Regions from separate parts of the Homo sapiens genome. Here regions 1, 2, 3, 4, 5 and 6 are each linked to region 7. Evidence: promoter capture Hi-C in 16 types of primary human blood cells and fetal thymus (Javierre and others, 2016). All regions are on one chromosome and are shown on one strand. Each heading gives the region's core, a stretch centred on a gene start or on the middle of the fragment in contact. The rest is flanking DNA. Distances are from core to core; before and after follow the strand shown.

What was found. Contacts are between HindIII fragments. The CHiCAGO score rates a contact against its expected background, and 5 or more counts as called.
Region 1: a fragment that was not itself captured here is called in contact with the fragment with the promoter of CYP24A1 in region 7 in 1 of 17 cell types (neutrophils); the score reaches 6.2 in neutrophils.
Region 2: a fragment that was not itself captured here is called in contact with the fragment with the promoter of CYP24A1 in region 7 in 1 of 17 cell types (neutrophils); the score reaches 5.0 in neutrophils.
Region 3: a contact is called between a fragment that was not itself captured here and the fragment with the promoter of CYP24A1 in region 7, in 1 of 17 cell types (neutrophils). The highest score is 6.7, in neutrophils.
Region 4: a fragment that was not itself captured here is called in contact with the fragment with the promoter of CYP24A1 in region 7 in 1 of 17 cell types (neutrophils); the score reaches 5.5 in neutrophils.
Region 5: a fragment that was not itself captured here is called in contact with the fragment with the promoter of CYP24A1 in region 7 in 2 of 17 cell types (neutrophils and non-activated CD4 T cells); the score reaches 7.1 in neutrophils.
Region 6: a fragment that was not itself captured here is called in contact with the fragment with the promoter of CYP24A1 in region 7 in 1 of 17 cell types (neutrophils); the score reaches 5.0 in neutrophils.

What each region holds. Positions count from the first base shown.
Region 1 is chr20:53,358,236-53,360,935 of GRCh38, reverse strand. The region is part of intron 2 of TSHZ2 (teashirt zinc finger homeobox 2); the gene reads right to left. Among named protein-coding and RNA genes, the nearest start is that of TSHZ2-AS1, 140 kb to the left of the region's middle. The HindIII fragment of the contact is 3,082 bases long and covers 1-2,700 here.
Region 2 is chr20:53,186,345-53,189,044 of GRCh38, reverse strand. All of the region lies in intron 1 of TSHZ2 (teashirt zinc finger homeobox 2), which reads right to left. Among named protein-coding and RNA genes, the nearest start is that of TSHZ2, 220 kb to the right of the region's middle. The HindIII fragment of the contact is 1,626 bases long and covers 567-2,192 here.
Region 3 is chr20:53,340,084-53,342,783 of GRCh38, reverse strand. The region is part of intron 2 of TSHZ2 (teashirt zinc finger homeobox 2); the gene reads right to left. Among named protein-coding and RNA genes, the nearest start is that of TSHZ2-AS1, 160 kb to the left of the region's middle. The HindIII fragment of the contact is 4,559 bases long and covers 1-2,700 here.
Region 4 is chr20:53,253,387-53,256,086 of GRCh38, reverse strand. TSHZ2 (teashirt zinc finger homeobox 2) reads right to left here. Exons shown (of 3, transcript NM_173485.6): 2 at 1-2,588. Among named protein-coding and RNA genes, the nearest start is that of TSHZ2-AS1, 250 kb to the left of the region's middle. The HindIII fragment of the contact is 4,977 bases long and covers 1-2,700 here.
Region 5 is chr20:53,271,537-53,274,236 of GRCh38, reverse strand. The region is part of intron 2 of TSHZ2 (teashirt zinc finger homeobox 2); the gene reads right to left. Among named protein-coding and RNA genes, the nearest start is that of TSHZ2-AS1, 230 kb to the left of the region's middle. The HindIII fragment of the contact is 4,570 bases long and covers 1-2,700 here.
Region 6 is chr20:53,214,578-53,217,277 of GRCh38, reverse strand. The region is part of intron 1 of TSHZ2 (teashirt zinc finger homeobox 2); the gene reads right to left. Among named protein-coding and RNA genes, the nearest start is that of TSHZ2, 240 kb to the right of the region's middle. The HindIII fragment of the contact is 6,183 bases long and covers 1-2,700 here.
Region 7 is chr20:54,172,606-54,175,305 of GRCh38, reverse strand. It overlaps CYP24A1 (cytochrome P450 family 24 subfamily A member 1), which reads left to right and starts at 1,320. Exons shown (of 12, transcript NM_000782.5): 1 at 1,320-1,984; 2 at 2,207-2,397. The coding sequence starts at 1,727. RefSeq lists an enhancer at 1,097-1,690. The HindIII fragment of the contact is 2,450 bases long and covers 53-2,502 here.

The DNA of each region.
Region 1 (2,700 bases), core at 67-2,566, 810 kb after region 7:
CTGTGCGAGAAACCATCTCATCTTAGCTAAAATAGAAGAGAGCTTGGCTTCTGGCATTATCCTGAACACAAAAGTTTTTAATATAAGGTTTGTCATAGCACAACTTTATATTAAAAGAACTGACTTTGAAGTCAAACTGCCTGGGTTTGATACTCCAGGTCTATTGTTTACAAGCTCTGTACCTTGTATAAGATACTTAATCTCTGGTTTCCCCATCTGAAAAATGGGGATAATGCTACATTTTTGGGCTTTCTAAGAATTAGGTAAGATAATCCCCATAAACGCTTAGCACAGTGCCTAGCACATTGTAAGACTGTCTAACTGTGATGTTATTATTAAAACCCTGACAAAAATCACACCATCTTGGAACCATGAAATATCACTCGTTGTGCATTCTAGAAACAAAAAAATATATAGTCACTACAAACTTGGTGAATTCAAGAGTAGACCTTGTCTGCTTCTATGTCTCTTATGCCCAGCACTGTGCTTCATATGGAGTAGAAGCTCGAAATATTTATTGACTTCGGTTAACAAAAGTAAAAGTCACGGGCAGAGTACTTAAAGTAGGCTGACCAGATGAGCACGTTCCACCAATTCTAGTACTGTGTAAATTACACCTTAGGACATAAAAGGAGGTGATATGTGTAACCATAAGTGTGCAAGGTAGGTGACAAAATGACATATGCTGTCTTATACTGAATTATCATTATTACACTGTCTTATATGTTAGATTTATTTATACTACATTTACAAAGTGTATCATTTCCCCCTTCACTTGGAAATCTTGATTTTTTCATTAAGATGCTTTCCTATTGCACAGAAACTCAGCAAGGGCTATGAAATGGGCATCAATGTTATCACCTTGGACTGAAAAGTCCATTTCAGTTGTACCTCTTTCTAGTACTAAAGTCAATGTAGGAGCTGATTGGCTGCCAAGTTGATAATCTTTCAATTAGTTCCAGAGCCTGAAGACATCTTTATAACGATGTCTTAAGGATGACTTTCCCCCACGATGTTTGTTGACAGACTGACCAATGCACTAATAAGACTGACTTAGGGTTGAATCCTGGTTTTGTTGCTCACCATCGGTGTGATCTTGGGCTTACCTCTCACCATCTTTAGCCTGGCTCGAAGCCCTCCACGGTCTGACTCCTGCCTGCCTTTCTGACTTGATCTCCTTTCCCTCTTTTGTCTAGCCATCTTTCTGTTCCAGCCACAGTGGCCTTCTCTCTGTCCTCGAACATACCAACCACATGGCTCAGAGCTGTTGTATTTGCTGGCCCCGCTGCTCAGATCTTCACCACGTGGGACAAATAAAGATTGTAATAGCCTCTTGCCAGCACAGTTTAATCTTTATGCCAAATGAATGTTGGCGCCAAACTAGTGTTGCCAGATTTAGCAAATGAAAATACAGCAAACCCAGTTAAATGTGAGTTTCAGATAAACAACGTGTAATATTTTTGTTTAAGTATGTTCCCTGCTGTCCTATTTATGAAAACACTTTAATTTTCAGAGATTTTTTGATTTGAGAATCACGGCTAAGGAATTGTAGGCATGTATTACTCTCTTTCATTTTACAGATAAGAAATTGAGGCACAGAGAGGTTAAATAACTTGGCTAAGATCACACAGCAAGAAAGAGCCAGAACAGGTTTGGCCCCAGTCTGCCTGACCCTAGACAGTTTTCACCCTTTTTATGAATGAAGGTCTGTGATGTTGAGCTTCTTTATCTACAAAAGCAAATTTGTAACTCCTAATTCATAAAGTTGTTGGTAGGATCGAATGATGAAATAATGTCTATAAAACAACTGGATTAGAGTAGGCCCTCCAAAAAAATAGTACTTACAGATTAAGGCTAACAGAGCAACCAGGAAGAAAAACGTTAACATGGGAATGTTTTCAAGCAGAAAAAGCAGGCCATCTTGAAAAAGACTGGTTCATATTACTCTTTCTTAGACTTGTGTTCACAATAGACATTTGGTTTTTGATTCCTAAAATAATAAATAGCATTCAAAGGATTTTTGGTTTTTAAAATAAGAAAAATATTCAAAGCGGTCACTTCATAAGGGAGAGACAAAAGATTTTGTCACCTAGATTATCTGTCAGCTGAGTGAAGTTTTATTTTTGCTTCATCAAGTGGCACAAGACCGTTTAAAAAACCCTAACGGATGAATGGTTTCTACAATTTATTTCTCCAAATAAATCTAACTTGCCATTTTATTTTATGCATAAATTGGTGGATTTTACCATCAAATAATTGGAAGTAAATTTTTTTTCAAAAAGATGAAGAACGGCTGGGTGCAGTGGCTCACGCCTGTAATCCCAGCACTTTGGGAGGCCGGGGTGGGTTGATCAACTGAGGCCAGGAGATCGAGACCAGCCTGGCCAACATGGTGAAACCCCATCTCTACTAAAAAAAACAAAAAAAAGTAGCCAGGCATGGTGGTGCACGCCTGTAGTCCCAGGTACTGGGGAGGCTGAGGCACGAGAACTGCTTGAACCTGAGTGGCGGAAGTTGCCGTGAGTCGAGATCCTGCCACTGCACTCCAGCCTGGGTGACAGAATGAGACTCTGTTTGGGAAAAAAAAAAAAAAAAAAAAAAAAAAAGAACCACAGAAACTTTTTTTTTTTTTCTGCCTGGTCTCAGTTGCTAGGATTTTGTCCCAGTTTACCCAGGCTCAGTAACTGCATGAAAACAATA
Region 2 (2,700 bases), core at 130-2,629, 990 kb after region 7:
AGAAATGGCATGAGGAAAGAATCTGCTACTTCTAAGCTGTGTGCTTTTGAGCAAAGAATGTTAGCTCTCTCCAACCTCATCTCTGTCATCTGAAAAATGGGGATAATCATATTTCCTCATAGACATGTTATAAGGATTAAATGCACTAATGTACATATATGCCTGGTATACAGTAGGTATATAATTTAAAATATTGATACATATAAGTACTTGCTAATCAGGTTCTTATATACGTAAGAACCGTATATATATAGGCAATTTACGTTCTTATAACTTAGGCAGCTGGTTCATAGGTATACTGAATTTATGAGAGTATGAATGTTTATTAATATGTATTCATATGTATATGTGTGTGTAAGATGGAGCTAGACATATATATTTAATTATATACCTATTTGGACCTATTTCTTCTATGGACTAGCACCAAATCCTAACAAGGCTTGTGGACATTTATTCTGTCTCATAGCCCTTGTGTATTCTACAGACCCTCTCCATTGTCTAGCAAGTGCATTTCATTAATTTAGAAAGATGCTGTTGAGAAAGTATGGACTCATCACCAAAAAGCTTCTCTGTCCTAGAGAAATCAAAGTGAAGAGCAGGCTCCAGGAAACAAGGTTGCTTAGCATTGCCTTGTATCTCTAGTCCAATGTAGATTTTACACTGAACATTGAAAACCTGGTGAACTTTTCTGAAAATAACTTGATCGACTCCCAGTTAGGAGCAGATTCATGTCAGGCGCTTCTCCAAAAGTCCCCTCGGCTGTAGAGCTGGGGGAACAGGCATGTTGTACCATTTATGTAATGATACATGGCTGGCCCTCCCCTCCCCCTTAAAGAAGGCAGAGAGAAATGATAGTCATTGCCGCCATGCAAAGTCGCATTGGAATTGTGGGAGCATTTTGGTTTTCATGAATTTTGAGAAGGGAACTGTGGGCACAAAACTACTGCTATTTGTCCTGACAAACTGCCTGTTCTGATGAATTAAGTGTCATGATTGTAACCCACGAATACCTTCAGTTCCAGGAACAGAAAGTCTTCCAGACTTGCTTCGTGCCACATTTCTGAGGGTTCTAATGATATATGGAGAGGGTGAGCCATGTTACCAGGAGGCGGGTGGTTTAAGGGTAGCAGGAGCTGCCTGAGCCACGCTTTTGGAGATGGGAGGTATGCATATGTTAGAGACAGCCACACTTTACTGATTTCCCATTTTCCCTCATGATAGCACCACCCTTTTCCCTCAGATCACTTTTTCTCAGAAATGCTCCATCTGAATAAAATTATTATCCCAAGCACATATTTTTTTTTTTCTTTCCCATCAGCATTTCCTGTCCTCTCACCTTAAAAAAAAACAGCACTGAGAACTTTTCAACCAAATGCAGCCATGTGGAGCTTGAGTTGTTTCAGATTTACACAGGCCCTCTGCTAACATCCTGTCGGGTGCTAAAATCCCACAGCTGTTCTGCTGGGACCACCCGGCTAGCCACGGACCACATCTGACAAAATGATACTGCTCGCTTCCAGAACTCCTCACACAGTTATTCTTGGATAAAAGGTAAAGCAAATAGCAAGCCAACTGCTCACTGCTGCAGAAACAAAGACCATCTAGCCATTTATCAAAGCTCGAGACACCGGTTTGCTTTAAACACAGACACCTCTCCCATTACAGCTTTAAACGATAACACGATATTATATCAGAAATGACAAATGGCACAGGTGGGGCCTAACCTATACACAATCGATACCTGCTCAGAAGTAAGAACCATCTTGAACGTATCGACAGAAGGAACAGGAATTCTCATAATACTGCAATGTTTTCTTGGTGTTGTGTTGGAACCAGAGGCCAACAGTATTCATCTGGGCATGACATTTTTTCACCAGCGATGTGTAGCCCCCAGACGTGCGGCGAGTGTCAAATCATTATCACTGTCCTGTATCTATGCTATATTGGATTCTAAAAGGCCCAGGCCAAGGAAATTGATTAGGTTGCTCCCTCCACAGCTTAAAACTCATTTTGGCTATATACACACAAAGAAAGGGGCTCCTCGAACTACCAGGCTCCATGAAAAATGGCAGAAGTGTAATTAAGGAGATTATGCCCTAGGGGTTTCTTTCGACCTGGCCCCAAAATATATATATATATATATTAAACCCTAGTGTCCCTGCGCACACACTGCCCCCAAGAGGAGACAAGCTTTCATGTTTAGATTGCAAAGAAGTAACTCTCCCCCAAGTGATTGATGAGGGGAGATTGTTAATACGGCTGCTGCCTCCCTCCCCCGTGTGGTTGTATTTAGGTGGATGCCAGACAGAGAATGACTTGGAAATGGGATAAAAGACTCAAAGCAAAGGCGGGTGGCAGAGAGGAGAGGTGGTGTGATGAATGCCTGCAGGCAGGTGAAAAGAAACCTTCTTCAATAATGGGGGTACCTCGGTTTGACATGCTGCCCTGAAAACAATACAGGTGGTGAGGATGGCAACCTGAGACCACTCAGAAAAAGTGAGATGGATGTGAGCACATATAGAGTTTTCTTCCTAGAGCTGACTGCTTGACCCCAAACCCTCAAACTATTACTTGCAGTATTTTATCAAAGACACAGACTTGCAGAGCTTCAAGCCTAGGGTTTCTGATTCAGTACGTTTGCAGTGGGTTTTTGAAAGTTGTATTGTAGAAAAGTCTTCAGGCAATTCTGAGTTTCAGCCA
Region 3 (2,700 bases), core at 132-2,631, 830 kb after region 7:
CTTTAATAGGGAGAAAGTATTTCCTAGAAAGACAGAGCATAAAGATTGCAGAGGCCCTGGATTGGGGTCTACATTCTTCCATCAGTTTCATGACTTGAGCCAGAGACTTAACCTTTCTTGGCCTTGGTTTCCTTATCTGTAAAATGGGCATACGTGAGTGTCTACAGTGCTGTGCTTATGAGGATGAAAGAATACAATAGGGACGGGCTTCTTTGCAGGGTACTTGAGACAGAACAAGCACTGAAGATAATACTTACTATGAATTGATGTTATTAAGGAATCATTGCCCCCAGTGGAAACTCAAATTACCATTCAACCCTTTACTGGTTATACCGGACGTAAGCGTCAGCAACCCCATTGGTAAAATGGAACAATAGTGTTCATTCTTTAAGGTTTATATGAGGATTAAATGAGATACTACAGTATACCTGACCAGTACGCCTTAAAACAGTCAAGGTCATCATTAAAAAAAAAAAAAAAAAAAAGCCTGAGAAGATATTACTGCCAACAAGAGCCCAAGGAGACATGGAAAGTAGATGTGTTGTGGTATTCCGAGTGTGAGCCTGGAGCAGGAAAATGACGCAGGGAAACACTAAGGAAATCTGAATAGAGTATGGATTTTGGTTCATAATAACGTATCCGTGCTGGTTCATTTGTTGTGACAAATTTACGGTACTAACGTAAGGTGTTACAAATAGGGGAAACTGGGTGTGGGGCATGTGGGGGCTCTTTGGACAAGCATCTCAATTTTTCTGTATATTTAAAATTGTTCTGGCTGGGCATGATTGCTCACGCCTATAATCCCAGAACTTTAGGAGGCCGAGGTGGGTGGATCAACTGAGCTCAGGAGTTCGAGACCAGTCTGGTCAACGTGGTGAAGCCCCTTCTCTACTAAAAATACAAAAATTAGCTGGGTGTGGTGGCACACGCCTGTAATCCCAGCTACTTGGGAGGCTGAGACAGGAGAATCGCTTGAACCCGGGAGGTGGAGGTTGCAGTGAGTTGAGGTCACATCATTGCACTCCAGCCTGGGCAACAGAGCAGCTCTGTCCCCCCAGCCCGCACCCCCCTGCCCCACAAAGCAAATATATCTATACATACATAAATAAAAAACTGTTCTAAGAAATGAAGCATATTTAAAATAGATAAGAGATAATTCGGCCGGGTATGGCGGTTTAAGCCTGTAATTCCAGCACTTTGGGAGGCTGAGATGGGAGGATTGCTTGAGGTCAGCAGTTCGAGACTAGCCTGGTCAACATAGTAAGGACCCCATCTCTATTAAAAAAAAAAATAAAGAAAAAAGACAGAAAGAGATAATGCATGAAAAGCCTTAGCAAGGGTGGCCAACCTGTTCCTCCTTCTGTGATTATCCCAGTTTTAGGACTGACAATTTTATGTCCCAGGAAATCCCTCAGTCTCAGGCAAACTGGGATTATTGGTCACTCCAACCTTAGCACAGAGTCTGGCACAACTCAGCATCGCAATCAATGTTGTTGTATTCGTTCCCTGGTGGTGAGCTCAGCAAATGCTCTGGAAGGCTGGCGATCGGAGGTGGATAAGGGAAGCTGTGAGTTCTGATTTTGTATCTACCTCCTCAAGGACAAGCAAACTGAGGCAGGGAATTTACTCACTGCCCCGACAAATACTATTGAGCATCTACTATGTGCCAGGGACTGTCCTCTATGCTGGCATAGAAGGGGGCTAGGAACACAAAGGTCAATAAAGTCTTGGCCTGAAGGATCCTAAATCTAATAGCAGACCTAAAACTTATACAACAGTAATAACAAAAATTAAAATGACAATGGCAAGCACAGCCACCAACAAGCCAGCAGGTAGGAATAATTGCGCTCAATTTTTTTCAGATTGAGGAGTTGATGTCTGGAGAACTCAGGCAGCTTGTCCAAGCGAACACAGATGCAGGGCCTACCCCACCTTTGTCCCTCTCCCATGCTTGGTGATTGTCCCATTACTCACTGCTGTCTCTCATGTCTACAAGACAAAGAAGAGAGAAAGAGAGGGCTAGAGGCACAGCTGTTACATTACAGGAGCTTCAGAAGGACGAACTAGCCCAAGTTAGGTGAAATAAGAGAGGACGTCCTGGAAGAGACAGAATCTAAGTGAAACTGTGAAGGCTACATGGGGATCCTTCATAGGAGTGCGCAACACAGTTTCTCCCATGCAATCCCCACTGAGTTTCTTTGTCTTTGGAAATAACCTGTGTAGAATATTTTGAAAGGATGATGATATAGGGCTCATTGCACATTGTGCAATAATTTTTTGAAAAATCACCTTGTTTTAGCAGCCAGGTGCAGTGGCTCACGCCTGTAATCCCAGCACTTTGGGAGGCCAAGGCAGGCGGATCACGAGGTCAGGAGTTAGAGACCATCCTGACTAACACGGTGAAACCCCGTCTCTACTAAAAAATATACAAAAAATTAGCTGGGCATGGTGGCGGGCGCCTGTAGTCCCAGCTACTCGGAGGCTGAGGCAGGAGAATGACGTGAACTTGGGAGGCGGAGTTTGCAGTGAGCCGAGATTGTGCCACTGCACTCCAGCCTGGGTGACAGAGCGAGACTCCATCTCAAAAAAAAAAAAAAAAGAAAAAAGAAAGAAAAGTCACCTTGTTTTATCCTAGCATTCCTGCATTGGCTGCTCTTCCCCCCACCAGGCATTGGCATTTATTGCTTCTGGAAAGAGATG
Region 4 (2,700 bases), core at 77-2,576, 920 kb after region 7:
ATCAGACAGCAGGTATTTGCCCTCTGATGTCTGGAAGAGGCTCGAGGCAAACTGGGCTTGTAGAATCAGAAGATGCTGAGGATTCCAGTTGGACTGCCGGCCTTTTCTTTTATGCAAAGTTGAGACTTCACTGGAGACATCCTCAAAGCGCCTGACATCCATTTCCAGCTTCATGGGGGGGACCCTGGAGGAGGAGGCTGGCTTTGGGGTGGTGGCTTTGGGGAGGACTTTGACCATGTCGGCGATGTCAGACAGAGCGTGCTTCTGAGGTGGGGACATACAAGATTGTGCTTGCGAGGACTCGGCTTTCTTGCTTTTGGACTTGGTCAGGTCAATGGGCTGATCGCTGTTCTCAAACAGGTAGCGCCTGGACACGCTGGCTGACCTTGTGGAGGCAGGACTCAAGACCGGCTTGTCCATGACATTGAGATTCGACTTGTGGAACATGGAAATTGTGCTTGAACTTGGGCTGGAGCAGGAAGGTGAGCGCAAGGGCTCCGTGGCTTTGCCCAAGTGATTGTTCAGGACGGACTGCAGGGCGCTGAGTGGGTTGATGCATGGCAGGGCCGGGGCGTGGTTGGCGAGGGCGCACCCATTGCTCAGAGCAGATGTGGGCTCCAGGGGCTGGGGTTTCTCCTTCTCGCTGCCCTCTTTCATCAGCTTCTCCTCCTCCTTCAGGGGACCCAGCTCGGTCTTTTTGGCTTCTGGAGGTGTTTCACTTTTGCGGAAAGAATCGCCCTCACTGTGGCTGAAAGATGAGGCCTCTTCGTGGGGACTTTCTTTCCCACACTCCTTCACCGCTTCATCTTTGTCTTCTGACTCTTTCTTGACTTGAGTGTAAGGGGCCAGGTGTGTGGGCATAGAAACCAGTGGCATCACTTTCCACTTTGGTGCAATGGGCCTCAGCTTGTTGGTGAGATTAGGCCGGATCTGCAGTACCTGGGATCCCATAGGCAAAGGCGGCTTGGTGCCCTCAGACAGCTGGTAGGCTGCGTGGATGCTGGGGTAGGCACTCCAGCTGGGGGCCCCGTTTTGGGCTTTGTTGATGGCTGTGGTGACAGTATTTTCCAAAGATTTCAAAATGTCCCCTCCACCCTTTGAGCCATCTTCCAAGTCTTCCTCCCTTAGGTATTGATATTTGATTGTAGGGTCTAAAGGTTTTTGTAGAGGATCTTCATAGTCCTCGCTTTTCACGACTTTCTCATCCTTGCTGGTTTCCTCTGGCCTTTCTTTTTTACTCTCTTTCTTTAACTCAGTTGTAGAGGCTGTACAATCTGATGCTGAGTTACTGGATGGCTTGGGAGCCAGAGAATCACTGTTTGGGGCCTCAGACAACGACTGCATTTTCTCCACTGCTAACGGGTCTAATACCAGCTGCTTCCCTTTCTTGGAGGCAGAGCTGGTGACCTTGAGAAAGTGACCTGTGACCATCATGTGGGTGGTGAGCTGCTGCAAGGTGTCATGGGAGCTCCCACACTCCATGCACTTTAAGATCTGGGACTTGCAGGCCTCAAACTGCCAGGTGTAGCTGGCTCCATTTTGGTAGCCATAGCGGTTGTTGGAGGACAACTGCAAGTTGGCGTTCTTCTGAGAAGAAAAAGAATCTGCAAAAGATCCTGTGGTTGAATCGGGGGAACACGGCCGATTGACATCAAAAACGCGTTTCTTAGCCGGGGTGACCATTTTCGAGGAAATGGTTGGGACTGGCTCCTTCAAAGGCACTTTTTGGTAATGTTTTGTTTTAATCATGTGGACGCTCAAATCTTGGAGGGAATCAAAGGAGTCGCCACAAAACATACATTTCAGAACCTTTTGAGCATCCTCTTTGTCCATATCCTGGAAAGCCCTTTTCCTGGGCTTTGAATAGCTCGTGGGTCTGAGCTTGTCCTTTTTGCGGTTGTCATCTTGATAGTGGCCCGTTTCATTCATGTGCACAGTCAGCTCGACTAGGGTGTCATAGGCCGCGCTGCACTGTCGGCATCGGAATCTGCTGGCCCCTGTGAACACAGTCCCGCACATCTTGCTGCTCTGTCGGTACAACTGCACCGAGCTGAACAGGCTGGGTTTCGAGACGGACCGAGAAGGCAAGTTCTGCTGCAGGCTTTTGGACAGAGCGTCTTGGTGCCAATCAAAATCACTCTTGTTGCTGCCGTTTCGGGTGTCACAGTTCCTCCTCTCACTATTGGACAGCTTGAAGCCAAGGCCCAGGCCTGACCAGTAGGAATCCGACAGGATGTTGGCGTAGACAGCGGTCATTTTATCCATGCAATTGTGTGCTTCGTTTGGAAGCCTGACGTGAGTGTGTGCTTTCTTGTCTGAGGCATCTCTGCCGCAGACACTCTTGATGTCCGACACCTGATCACTGGCGTCACTCAGCAGAGACTCGTTCTCGGCATCCTGATTGGACAAATGACTTCCTGGAGAGTTCTGGTAGCTGAAGCAGCCTTTTTGCTCTGGGCCCGTTTCTAGCTCCTCGTCCGTCCCTGTGTCATTGCCACCCTGCAGTTGAGCTACTGAACCGCTGTCCTCCTCCTCCTCCTCTTCTTTTATTTCCTCCTCTTCTTTCAGCTGTTCCTCCTGGGCGTAGCCTGCAAGAGAAGAAGAAGAGATGAAACGACAGTAACAGGCTCCATATTCCATTCCAATTTCCTCACATAGACTAAGTGCTTCCCATGCCGAACTGAACGGTGATTTAATCTA
Region 5 (2,700 bases), core at 25-2,524, 900 kb after region 7:
GCGCAGCGGTGCGATCTCGGCTCACTGCAATCTCCGTCTCCCAGGTTCAAGCAATTCTCCTGCCTCAGCTTCCTGAGTAGCTGGGATTACAGGCACGCGCCACCACACCCAGCTAATTTTTGTATTTTTAGTAGATATGAGGTCTCACCAGGATGGTCTCGATCTCCTGACCTTGTGATCTGCCCGCCTTGGCCTCCCAAAGTGCTGGGATTACAGGTGTGAGTCACTGCGCCCGGCCACTAGTGGTTTACTTTTATCGGAATGGATTCCTCTTGGGAGATGGGCAGTGATGGCATGCTTGGGAGTCCGGGTGGTCCAGGGGAGATTCGGGAAGAGCAGTTGTATCCTGGTCCTCTAGAGCCCACCCGGGGCCCCACAGTGTGAAGCTGAGAGAATCTGTCCCCATGAACACGTGTCTTCTTTGTTTGAAGTCCCTTCTCCTCCCTAGGCAAGCATGGTCCTGAGTGATCCAGAATTCTCCCAGGTCCACGCATTCCTTCCCATGCTCACCGCCTCCACTGAGGCTCCAACCAAGGCCATCTGTTCCCGGTCTCCCAACAGCCTCCTTGCTGGCCTCCTGCTTTCACTCCTGACCCTCTTGTCCATTCCACACCCAGTAGCCAGAGTGATCTTATAAAAATGAAAGTAGGCTGGGCGTGGTGGCTCATTCCTATAATCCCAGCACTTTGGAAAGTCGAGGCAGGTGGATCACCTGAGGTCAGGAGTTCGAGAGCAGTCTGGCCAACATAGTGAAACCCTGTCTCCACTAAAAATACAAAATTAGGCGTGGTGGCACATGCCTGTAATTCCAGTTACTCAGGACGCTGAGGAAGGAGAATCACTTGAACCCAGGAGGCAGAGGTTGCAGTGAGCCAAGATCGCACCATTGCACTCCAGCCTGGGCAAGAAGAGTGAAACTCTGTCTCAAAAAAAGAAAGAAAGTAGATCATGCCACATGCCTGTTCAAGCTGCTTCAATGGCTTCCCAGTGGACCTAATGAAAAACAAATCCAACGTTCTTTTATTTCCCCACCCAGTTAGCATGGTCTCAAAAAATCCAAAGTTCTTAGCATGTTCTACAAAGCCCTGAGTTGTCCCATGCTCATCCCACAATTCATGTCCCACCACTGGATGCCCAGCTCATGACACTCCGGCCTTTCTCTGAATCAAACATATCAGCCCTGCTCCTGTTTCTCCTGCCTGGGATGTTCTGCTTCCAAGTTGCCACCTGACTCCTGTCTTTTCAATCTCCTCTATTTAAAGTAGGTGGCCCTGTCACAGTCCCTTGCACTACCCCATATTTCCTTGGTAGCCCCTCATTCTCAGAAATTGTTACTTGTATTTATGTGCTCAATAGATGTTAGCCCTTAGTATTATTATCAACCTGCATCCCCTGTTTCTCTTATTCTCTGGTGTAGCCCAGGACTCAGAACAGAGCCTGGCACACAGCAGTTCCTCCAAGAGTTAGCATAGACATTTCTTACCCCGGATGCAAAAACATCCTGGCAGAGTGTTAGTCCTTTCTACGGCAGGCTGGAAATGTTTCTTACATCCTCATACTTTTCTGGCTGTGCAAAGCCTGAAGATTCATTTGCACTGGGCTTATGTTAGATGCTGGGGACTGTGCTTCATGTTTTGTGTACTTTTATGTATTTGATCTGCCTCACGGATGAGAGACGTAAGTATTATTGTCATTTCGCCCATGGAGGATGGCAAAAGGAAGTATAATCACTTCCTAGATAGCATGTCCCTTTCTCCCTCTCTCTTCTCCTTCCTTCCTTTCTTTTATCCAATATTTGTAGAGTCTGGGTTCCAAGGAATACAACAGGAAGCCAGTCAGATGCAGCCCCTGCCCTCCCAGAGCTTCGAGGTGGAGGTCGACCTTGTATCCAATGTCAACTGGAGGCTCAGTTAAAAGTCCACTTCTCGGCCGGGCACGGTGGTTCATGCCTGTAATCCTAGCACTTTGGGAGGCCGAGGCAGGCAGACCATGAAGTTAAGAGTTCAAGACCAGCCTGACTAACATGGTGAAACCTTATCTCTACTAAATATACAAAAATTAGCCAGGTGTGGTGGTGCGTGCCTGTAATCCCAGCTACTCAGGAGGCTGAGGCTGGAGAATCACTTGAACCAGGGAGGTGGAGGTTGCAGTGAGCCGAAATCGCACCACTGCACTCCAGCCTGGCAACAGAACAAGACTCCGTCACAAAAGAAAAAAAAAAATCCACTTCTCCACTCACTTCCCAGCCCTGCAAAGTCAATTTCATGGAAACAATGCTCCAATATTTCATAAAGCAAACCTCAATTGAATATCTGTCTCTATGATCATGAAAAGACAAAGTTTGTGCACCCAAGGAGAAGCCATTGTATGCACATCCACCAGCCACCTGTCTGTTCAGCCTCCTCTCTCTGCCATCTGCTCCCCAAAACTGGGCTCTCTGCAATCATACTGAGCCACATGCATTTTCTGGAATGAACCACACCCTCTCTCTCACTTAACAAGACTTTACTCTTGCCGTTCCTTCTTTCCGCAACACTTTTCCCTCTTATCCTCCTGGCTAGCTCCTTTTCATCATTCCAGACTCAGCCTAGATCTCTTCTCATTTGGTTAGACTTCTTTGACCCCTCTTTTCCCCACTGGCTCCGTACTTCTGTTGTGCTAGCAGTGAGCAGAGGCTAAGCCTTGTGGTTTCATTGTCTT
Region 6 (2,700 bases), core at 37-2,536, 960 kb after region 7:
CAGCAGAGGGCGCTGGTACGAAAGGCTGCAGGTGCTGGCATCGGCCAAGCGCAGACAGGTGGGGCCGCGGCAGGTGCGGCTCTCGCACTATCCCCCTTTCACAACTTGGGAGGACACAGCTTCACCGGGTGGGCCTGACAGCGAGCAATTACTCATCCATCGATACAGCCGCACATCACCAGCAATGTGACTTTCTGGAATATGTAATGCGACCACAGACTTTCTAATGCCGCAGCCTGACAATCAGACACTAAAAATAACAAACGGGCCCGCTCAGGAACAGAAAGACACGGCCTCTTTGGAAACTGGGGATGGGCCGTTTCCAACTCTGCTCACCGCTGGAGCCCTGCACGGAATTCTCCGGGCGGTGAAGTGAGTCGCCAGGAGCTGCCAGGGGCTGCAGGGAGAGTTCCCGCATTTGAAGGGTGTGTTCACTTTTAGACAACTCAGTCCCAGCAAGATGTAGACAAATTGGAGCAAGTTCAGAGAAGAACAACCCACATGATTAAGGGGAAAGAGGATTGATTTATAGAGAAATATTAAAGCAGCCAAACATGTCTGCGCTGTGTTCTCCAGGTGACAAATCAGAGAGTGACACATTGTGGGGCTCCATGCACCTTTGAGAGGTGTAAACATCAGGGGATGAGAAACTAGCTCAGTGCAAGGAGCTTTTCACAGCATTTTCTAAGATGGCATTAACACCAGAAAATGTTCCTGGCTGGTGAAGGGTTGGTTGGGTCGCACCTATGCTTGAGAACCCTTTGTTGTCCTGATTTTGCCTGGCATAAAATGACATATCCTAGCTAGGGGTTCACATTTGTGGCCTTCAGTGCTCTGGCTGTGGCCTATTTTTCCTTGTATGTTCACGTCCTTGACTTTCTGCCAGGGATTCCGCCACCCCAGTCCCATTTGTCCTCACTCCAGCTTTACCTGACTACCTGTCTTACTCCTCCATCAGGAACTGAAATGCTTAGGAGCCAACAATGGCTTGGCTGGTGAAGTGAGGTGTGGAGAGGGCTGGGGAAGACAACAGGACCAGCAATTGCAAGGTGAGAACAGATGACAGGGACATTCCTTGGGTGTTGACTTCATAGAATGCTGAAATACTAGTGTCTTATTAAAAAGTGAGCTGGCCCCCCACTGTTTTCTATTCCTCATTCTGAGGAAGAGCTAAGGTCGTGCCTTTCTGTCCTCCAGATATGAGTCTCTGGGAATTTGACTGGGGAAGAAGGTCTTGGCCAAAATGAAGAATTCTGGGAGAAGAGGAATCAGACATCAGAGACAGGTGTTTGGCCTTAGGGGAAAAAGGGCAGGAGCTCAACCCTAGGAGAAAGACTGGGAATTAGGCCTGGGACCCCTCTTTTCCCATCCCTATGAAACCATTTTTTAAATTTTTTTTTTTTTTTTTTGAGACGGAGTTTTGCTCCTGTTGCCCAGGCTGGAGTGCAATGGCGCGACCTCGGCTCACCACAACCTCCGCTTCCTGAGTTCAAGCTATGCTCCTGCCTCAGCCTCCTGAGTAGCTGGAATTACAGGCATGTGCCACCATGCCCGGCTAATTTTGTATTTTTAGTAGAGATGGGGTTTCTCTCCATGTTGGTCAGGCTGGTCTCGAACTCCCGACCTCAGGTGATCCACCTGCCTTGGCCTCTCAAAGTGGTGGGATTACATGTGTGAGCCACCGTGCCCAGCCTTTCTTACATTTTTAATATAGTCTCTTCCTCACTTCTCCCCTCCCAAAGGCAAAAAAAAAATCTAGGATGCCTCCATGATGGAACTCTGACTGTAGACCATAGCTGAAGGAGCTCTGGAAAGAAAGCAAATGTCTGGCAAAAGCCACTCAACCTCTCCCATATACCAGGAAATGAGAACCAAAAGAGAAACAAGATACTGTGGCATGGTTAGACAGTGGAAGGGTGTGGTGAGAACGCTTTTCATATGACAGGCAGCTCTCAAAATGCTGCTATTTTGCTCTTAAAAACCACCGCAATATACTGGAATCCCGGGAAGTGGTGTTGTGATCTTGGGATGATGTGGCAGGGCTGTAAGGACTTAGACCAGTGTTTGCCACGTGGAAAAGTGGGCTCAGTGCTGTTAGATTTTCTACTTTTTCTCACAGTAGCCTGAAATTCAGGTTTTGATGAGATAATCTTTAAAAAAAACTCAAACAAACAACCTCCCTGCAAAAACAAACCCAAACTGCATTTCTGCAGGAGGACATTAGCCTATGGGTCCCGCCCACTGGTGTGCCCGATCTCAGTGTCCATTGGATTTTTTATCCTTCCTTTTCCCTCAGATGGCCCTTCCCTCATCTCCCCATGAACTCTTATCTCAACCTTTTAAATGCCACATCCTTCACAAATCTTGCTTCAATCAAGCTCATTGCAATGACACTCTCCTCTCAGGTTTACGGGCTCCTTCTTAGATTAATTATAATAATAATAGTGTTTATTGATTGAGTGCTTACTAAGCACAGGCAGGCACTGGACACTCTACACACCCTCCCTTCCTTCTGCTTCATTCCTTTCTCTGCTCACATTGTCTTCTTCTTCTTTTCATTTTGAGACAGTCTTGCTCTGTCACCCAGGTTGGAGTGCAATGCAGTGGCATGATCTCTGGTCACCTCGGCCTCCACCTCCCGGGTTCAAGCAATTCTCTTGCCTAATCCTCCCAGGTAGCTGAGATTAAAGGCACGTGCCA
Region 7 (2,700 bases), core at 71-2,570:
ATAAACAGTCATTAGCCCCTCCAGACAAATCAGAAATGATGGTGTTAAAGCTTAAGTTGGACTGCAAAAGATTTTTAAGAAACAAACTAGAGGCTTACAAAAGAATTTACCAGGGAAGGATTTGCCAACACTTGGGGCAAAAATGACTGAGACACGTAATTGAAAAGCAGGGCGAGGAAACAGAATGTCCCTCCCCTCCTCCCTGGCTGGTGGTAGTTTTGTATTGGATCAGGTTGAAAGGATTCGAGCCACTTTAAAACAATCAACAAAAATCTCCAACTTCCGTTCCTGAATTAGCAAAGCGAGTTCTACTCTTGCCAGCCGCGGTAACTCTAGAAATTGTGTATGTTTGTCACTGGACCTGCCTAGGACGCACCTTGGGGGAGAGGGGGAGTACTGGGGGCGGTGGTTTCAAGCTCTGTGTGCCCCTCCTTTGCACAAGGTAGTCGGTGTAGAAGAACAGAGGCGGGCAGTGGACATAGGGGAGGTGGCCCAGCCTGAATTCAAGCATCGTTGGTGCAAGCCACGCTCTCAAGGCGCATTTCCTAACTTCCTAAAGAAGTAACAACAGCAACTAACTTTTATTGACTGTTGACTATAGACAAGGCTTCGTTGTTGCCGCTTTACGTGCATTAATTCATTTAATCTGCAAAACAACCAAACATGAAACAGCAGGAAGGAAATTCTACAAACTCCCCTTCTTGCTCAAGTTAAGAAAGTCTCCTCTTCTGGTGCATTTCAGTAAGACTCAAATCCTCCCCACCCTGGGAGGCGCAGAAAGCCAAACTTCCTCCAAAAAAAAAAAGGCAAAAAAAAAAAAAAAATCACTTCAGTCCAGGCTGGGGGTATCTGGCTCCCCGGGAGGCGCCCGGGCTCCCCGGGGCCCTGGCAGACGCCGGCAGCTTTTCTGGGCCCGCACTCGGGGACCTCGCCCGCCCGGCATCGCGATTGTGCAAGCGCCGGGCGGCAACCACGGCCGCCGCTGCCGGCTCCTGCCCGCCGGGGGAGGGCGGGGAGGCGCGTTCGAAGCACACCCGGTGAACTCCGGGCTTCGCATGACTTCCTGGGGGTTATCTCCGGGGTGGAGTCTGCCGCCCCCACCCCACCTCCCGCGCCCAGCGAACATAGCCCCGGTCACCCCAGGCCCGGACGCCCTCGCTCACCTCGCTGACTCCATCCTCCTTCCACCCCCCCTCCCCTGGGTCCCGCGTCCCTCGGAGTCTGGCCAGCCGGGGGCCACTCCGCCCTCCTCTGCGTGCTCATTGGCCACCCAGGGCATGCTCTGTCTCCATAAATGCATGGTCCCTGGGCATAGGAACATGGAGAGGGACAGGAGGAAACGCAGCGCCAGCAGCATCTCATCTACCCTCCTTGACACCTCCCCGTGGCTCCAGCCAGACCCTAGAGGTCAGCCTTGCGGACCAACAGGAGGACTCCCAGCTTTCCCTTTTCAAGAGGTCCCCAGACACCGGCCACCCTCTTCCAGCCCCTGCGGCCAGTGCAAGGAGGCACCAATGCTCTGAGGCTGTCGCGTGGTGCAGCGTCGAGCATCCTCGCCGAGGTCCTTTCTGCTGCCTGTCCCGCCTCACCCCGCTCCATCACACCAGCTGGCCCTCTTTGCTTCCTTTTCCCAGAATCGTTAAGCCCCGACTCCCACTAGCACCTCGTACCAACCTCGCCCCACCCCATCCTCCTGCCTTCCCGCGCTCCGGTGTCCCCCGCTGCCATGAGCTCCCCCATCAGCAAGAGCCGCTCGCTTGCCGCCTTCCTGCAGCAGCTGCGCAGTCCGAGGCAGCCCCCGAGACTGGTGACATCTACGGCGTACACGTCCCCTCAGCCGCGAGAGGTGCCAGTCTGCCCGCTGACAGCTGGTGGCGAGACTCAGAACGCGGCCGCCCTGCCGGGCCCCACCAGCTGGCCACTGCTGGGCAGCCTGCTGCAGATTCTCTGGAAAGGGGGTCTCAAGAAACAGCACGACACCCTGGTAAACCCCTTTTCGCGCCCCTGACTCTCTCCTCCCTCTTCCGCCCTCCCAGTGGCGCTCCAAACCCTCCCCGACATGCGCGCCTCGGGCGCATGGTGCGCTTCGGCGTCTGGGCAGGGAGGGTCCCCGGTCCCCTAGGAGGAAGGAGGCGGGAGGAGGGAAAGCGCTTCGGGCACGGCGGAGGATGCGCGCTGACACCGCGCTGTGCCCGGCCGGCTGCAGGTGGAGTACCACAAGAAGTATGGCAAGATTTTCCGCATGAAGTTGGGTTCCTTTGAGTCGGTGCACCTGGGCTCGCCATGCCTGCTGGAAGCGCTGTACCGCACCGAGAGCGCGTACCCGCAGCGGCTGGAGATCAAACCGTGGAAGGCCTATCGCGACTACCGCAAAGAAGGCTACGGGCTGCTGATCCTGTGAGTCCAATCCGAGGGACCTGGGCATGCGGCCAGACCTGATGAGCCTGACGGCGCCTGGAAATTGTGAAGAGGCGGAGTTAGAGTTCCCTGGGGTTGGAAGCTTCTTACGTAGGGCGGATACCAAAGCCCCTCTCCCGTGCCATCGCAACCCTGAGCTCTTGTACAGATTAGAGTCGGTCCACGGAAAAGCCGTGCTGTGCACCCAGCACCTGCGTTCTCTCTGGCAACAGGGCAGGGCCACACCCTCCCATCAAAGAAACGCCAAAACAGGGTTGTACCAACTGTGGTGTTCAGACTCTT